Linked DNA regions of Homo sapiens: region 1 is linked to region 2. The links are contacts of gene promoters, found by promoter capture Hi-C in blood cells and fetal thymus (Javierre and others, 2016). All regions are on one chromosome and are shown on one strand. Each heading gives the region's core, a stretch centred on a gene start or on the middle of the fragment in contact. The rest is flanking DNA. Distances are from core to core; before and after follow the strand shown. Region 1 overlaps LSM14A (LSM14A mRNA processing body assembly factor). Region 2 holds the start of GPI (glucose-6-phosphate isomerase).

What was found. The method cuts DNA at HindIII sites, captures the fragments that hold promoters and counts their contacts. A CHiCAGO score of 5 or more calls a contact.
Region 1: a contact is called between a fragment that was not itself captured here and the fragment with the promoter of GPI in region 2, in 1 of 17 cell types (naive CD4 T cells). The highest score is 6.6, in naive CD4 T cells.

The regions. Positions count from the first base shown.
Region 1 is chr19:34,176,491-34,179,248 of GRCh38, forward strand. All of the region lies in intron 1 of LSM14A (LSM14A mRNA processing body assembly factor), which reads left to right. Among named protein-coding and RNA genes, the nearest start is that of LSM14A, 5.4 kb to the left of the region's middle. The HindIII fragment of the contact is 8,937 bases long and covers 1-2,758 here.
Region 2 is chr19:34,363,897-34,366,596 of GRCh38, forward strand. GPI (glucose-6-phosphate isomerase) reads left to right here and starts at 1,300. Exons shown (of 18, transcript NM_000175.5): 1 at 1,300-1,492; 2 at 2,449-2,539. The coding sequence starts at 1,371. RefSeq lists an enhancer at 2,374-2,700. The HindIII fragment of the contact is 4,651 bases long and covers 1-2,700 here.

The sequences.
Region 1 (2,758 bases), core at 204-2,703, 190 kb before region 2:
TAAATGTTCTTCTGACATTTATAGTTTTACCATATAAGTTTACATCTCTAAATAATAGAGTTTAATTTTGCCCATTTTTAACTTTATGTAAATAGGATTGTGTTGTATATATTTTATTTTTAGCTTTTATTGTTTCATAATATTCCATCATGAATATAACACAAGTTTATTCCTTCTGCCATTGTTTTGGATATTGCATTTAGATTGTTTGCAGTTTGGGGCTATTATAAACAATGCTTTTATGAACATTTCTGTTTAAGTGCACTGGTGCATGTTTATTTCGTTTTCTTGAGATTATATACTTAGAATTTGAATTGCAAGAACATGGGGAATGTTGGTCTTTATCAGGTAATGCCAGGTAGTTTTTCAAAGTAGTTGTTTAGTGGTTTTTACTTCATTTATTAGTATGTAAGAGTTCTTGTTTCATATCCCTTACCAACAACCGTACGTGGTATCATATATTTCAATTCTAGCCAATCCTGGTGGGTATGTAGTTGTATTTAGTTTTAATCATTTCCCTCATTACTAAATGGGGCTGACCAGCTTTTCATATCTGGGTGTTTGGATTTCATTTTTCATAAAATGCCTTTGAAATCTTTTCCTTTTTTAAATCGAAACACGTCTTTTTCTAGAGTTCTGTATTCTGAATATATCTCCATTGTTGGATGTATATATTGCAAACATTTTTTCCATTTAGTAGTTTCTTTAAATTAACAGAAGTTCTTCATTTTAATGTAAACATGTTCATCAGTTTTTTATGGCTAGTGTTTCTTTTTTTAAAACATCATAGAGATACTTTGATTATCTTTAAACCTTTTTGTGCTTTGCTTTTTCACATTGACGTTTATAATGCATCTGAAATTGATTTTGTGTACAATGTGAGATATTCAGAGCTTTATATTTAGTAAGGGATTCACTTGGTTTATATTGTCCATATTATAATTTAGGGCTTGGATATTATAATTTAAATATATCTGGAACTATAAACTACTCTTGAAATTTTTGGCTATTTACATTTGATGTGGTATATAATTAGGGTAACCATATGGCCTAGTTTGCCCTGGTGGAAAGTCCTTGTTTGTGCCTGCTCTGGCATAATTATTAAAAACATCCCGGCTGGGCAGGGTGACTCAGGCCTGTAATCCCAACATTTCCAAAAGGTCAAGGCCGGGGTATTGCTTGAGCCCAGGAGTTCAAAACCAGCCTCGGCAATACAGGGAGACTCCATTTCTACAAAAAATTTTAAAAAGTGCATTAGCCAAGCATGGTGGCATGCATGTCTGTCGTCCCAGCCACTTGGGAGGCTGAGGCAGGGGGATTGCTTGAGCCCAAGAGGAGCTGTGATCATGCCACTGCACTCCAGCCTGAAACATAGAACAAGACCTTGTCTTAAAAAATAACAATGATAGCCTGTAATCCCAGCACTTCAGGAAGCTGAGGCAGGCGAATCACCTGAAGTCAGAAGCTCGAGACCAGTCTGGCCAACATGGCGAAACCCCGTCTCTACTAAAAATACAAAAATTATCTGGGCGTGCTGGTGCATGTCTGTAATCCCAGCTACTTGAGAGGCTGAGGCAGGAGAATTGCTTGAACCTGAAAGGCGGAGGTTAGAGTGAGCCAAGATCACACCACTGTACTCTAGCCTGGGCAACAGAGCGAGACTCTGTCTCAAAAAAAAAAAAAACACAAAATAATAATAATAATCTGTTTTCTCTTTTGAAAATGTTTCAGTGTGGATAAGTTATCACACCACATAATCAAAAGCCTAATTGCAGAGGTGCTGTGAAATGGTCGATGTGCCTTATTTTCTGCTAGAGATGTCACAGACTAGCTTTAGTTCTAGAAAGTGAAACAGGTAAGTTTGAGGGGCTTTGATCCTCGGAACCTAAGCATATGTCAAGAAGTCATAAAGGCAACCTAGAAAGGCTTTGATGTCAATCTGCTATGTATGTTTATAGATGATCTGTGTTGCAGTTTGTTTCTGCAGTTTGTTGCAGTTTGTAGTCTGTGTCACAGCTCTGAATTTATTTTCTTCTCAGCACTGATCATGACTTACACTTAATCTTCTTTGCTTATTTGCATATGTGTTTATTGTCTGTCTTCACCTTCCCCTTCACCTCCAGACTCTGAGCTCCTGGTATGAAAGGTTGTTTAGTTAGTGAGTAAATGGAAATGATTTAGCATTTTAGCTTATTGTTCTTGTAGAAGTATCTTGGGTATACCTCCAAATAATGCTTTTCCATGTTCACAATTGCATTTCCCTATAAAATTAAATTATCCTGCCTCACATTAAGAAATCTTGAAGAATTTCAGTGAGTAGGGATGCAAGAGGATGAAATCTAGTGACATAATTAACATTATTGGGGAGGTAAACTCTTTGTGACTCAAGCTCAATTATAATTTTCATTTAAAGTTTAAAGGAAGCCTCCATTCAGGGTGTAGGAAGAAATTACACAGTGGTGACATGTATGAATATTTTATGGAATAGTTCCAGTTGTGTTTGCACCTACGTCTATAAGTGAGTAGGATGCCTAAATAGGCTAAAATGAATGAAATTCTTATAAAAAATAAATTCTTACATTTAGTTAGCTTACCTGGATAATCATTCAAATGGAAACCAGGTTGCTACTGCACTGGGAAAAGAGACTTTATGAAGAACGATTATATAAGCCACTTGCCTTTAAAATAAGTTGTTCTTAAAATCAAGAGATTGGTGGAAGAATAGAAAAACAAGTAAATTGTTAACAGATTTCTTTAA
Region 2 (2,700 bases), core at 50-2,549:
AGCTCAGTGAAATCTTAAGAGTTGACAGTTCTTAGAAAAGGGCCATGTGGACAGGGCTGTTCCCTGGAAAGTCCTGTGACCCCTCAGTGACCACTTATTTCTTTTGTTGTCAGCCTTTCCCTATTTTCTTTTCTTTTCTTTTCTTTTTTTTAAGACAAGGTGTTGCTGTGTCACCCAAGCTGGAGTACAGTGGTGGTAATCACGGCAGCCTCTAACTCCTGGACTCAAGTGATCCTCCTGCCTTGGCCTCCCGAGTAGCTGGGACTCTGCAGATATGCACCACCACATGCCCCGCTAATTTATTTTTAGTATTTTAGAAGCAGTGTTTTGCTGTCTTGCCCAGGCTCGGCTTGAACTCCTGGCGTCAAGCTATCCCACCTCCCAAAGTGCTGGGATTATAGGCAGGAGTGCCCAGCCCCAGAGTTCTTACAATGACTTACAAGGTCTTACGTGATCTTGTTGCCTCCCTTTTGCTCTCTGACCTCATCTTTTTTTTTTTTTTTGAGATGGAGTCTCACTCTGCCACCCAGGCTGGAGTACAGTGGCTCACTGCAGTCTTCACCTCCCAGGTTCAAGTGATTATCCTGCCTCAGCCTCCCGAGTTAGCTGGGAATACAGGCACGTGTCACCAGGCCCGGCTAATTTTTGCATTTTTTTTTTCAGTAGAGATGAGGTTTCACCAGGTTGGCCAGTCTGGTCTGGAACTCCTGGCCTCACATGATCCGCCTGCCTCGGCCTCCCAAAGTGATGAGATTACAGGCGTGAGCCACCGCGCCCGGCCTAGTCACTTTTTTCTTAATTGCAACCCCGATTCTCAGCACCCTTTTCATCTTGGTTTTCCTCAATAGCCCTTACCACCAGCAGACACACATCATCTGTTGTACTTGCTTATTTGGCACATATGTATCCACAGCGCCTAGAACACTGCCTGTAACGTGGAAGGTGTTCGATCTATAGAGTTTTGTCGAATGAATGAATGAAGCCGACTAGTGCACAGGGAGTGCAGCGGCGCGATGGTAGCTCTCTGCAGCCTCCAACACCTGGGCTCCAGTGATCCCCGGGCTCTGCCCACCCTCCCCACTGCCACTTCCGGGCAGAGGCCAGCAAAGCGGCGGCGCAAGAGGTAGGGAGAGAGGAGCTGAGGCCCCAGATCAGCGGCCGCGGGCAAGGTCGCTCAGCGGGCACCCGGCCTGGGTATCGGGGCGCGGGTCGGGGGCGGGGCCGGGGCTCAGGGGTGGGGCCGGGCCGGGCCGGGCCGGGCGCCTGCGCCATAAAGGCCGCCGCGCGCCCACGCGCCTCGCTTGCTGCGCGCTGCCGGCGCTCCTTCCTCCTCGGCTCGCGTCTCACTCAGTGTACCTTCTAGTCCCGCCATGGCCGCTCTCACCCGGGACCCCCAGTTCCAGAAGCTGCAGCAATGGTACCGCGAGCACCGCTCCGAGCTGAACCTGCGCCGCCTCTTCGATGCCAACAAGGACCGCTTCAACCACTTCAGGTGCGGGCGGGCCGGAGGCGGGGGCTGCCACGCGCGGCGCCCGGAACCGGGCACGCGGGCCTGGGGTCTGGAGGCGGGGGCAGCGGTGCCCGGGGACCCCAGTCCCCGACCTCCAGGCCACGGACTGGGGCCCAGGCCGAGTCCGCACTTCGTCCTTGGAGTCTCCTTGGAGTGCGTTCCTGGGGGCTTGCAGCCTCGCCGGGAGTCTCGGCCCCGGGTCTGCTTCGTTACGAGGAAAAACGGGCCCCTCCGTGGGGACATTTCCCCTCCTCCTCCCCGTGCAGCTCTGGCCATTTGAGCAGGGGCTCCTTTCGCAGTTGTGAAGAGAGGCCTTGGCTGACGCAGCAAGCGGGAAAGGGCTGTCCCTTTCCATCCGCTCCTGGCCACATGAGCTTGGGAGCGTCTGCAGGGCGGGCAGCCCGGGCGGGGGTGTTTGAGGGAGCTGGGTGGAAGGATGGAGACGTCGGGCGTGATTCCTGCAGAAGACACCTGTGCACGACCGGGAAGTGGGAAGGAGTGTTTGAGCAAATCATGGGCGGGAGTGCGGCCAAGGGAGCTCTGATCACTGATACTGGTGGAGGCGGGGGAGGGGAGCGACTGTGGCTCCGGGCTAGACGTCCCGATGGCCATCCCTGTCATCTGGATGGGTGCCTGAGTAACTTACGGCAGAAAGTGGAAGCCCTGGGAAGGGGTGGTCCCCCACTTCAGTCCGGGCTCCTCATCCAGGGTCTGCCTGCATCTACGGTCTGTGAGGATGGCTTCTTTCTCTGGGCTGCTGTTGCAGATCATCCTGGTGGGCCAGCAGGTGACAGACACCACCACTGTGCTGGGTGGCCGCGGCCCTTGTGGGGCGTGGGTCAGGGAGGATGTTTCTTCTGGGAACAGCTCCTGCTTAGGGCATGGCTCCCCGCTAGGGAGACCAGGGTGTGGTCAGCAGCATCTCCATCTTTCTGCAGCTTGACCCTCAACACCAACCATGGGCATATCCTGGTGGATTACTCCAAGAACCTGGTGACGGAGGACGTGATGCGGATGCTGGTGGACTTGGTAATGTTCTGCTTGGGGAGGCATAACTGGTAACCGACAGAGTGGTGGGTGAGCTGGGCTCCTGGGAGTCCCCAGGACCTTGAGTATCTTGAGTTCTTCCTCTCATTAGACCTCAGTCACCTCCTCTGTGCTGGTGAGGCACCTGTCCCTGGCTTAGGTTC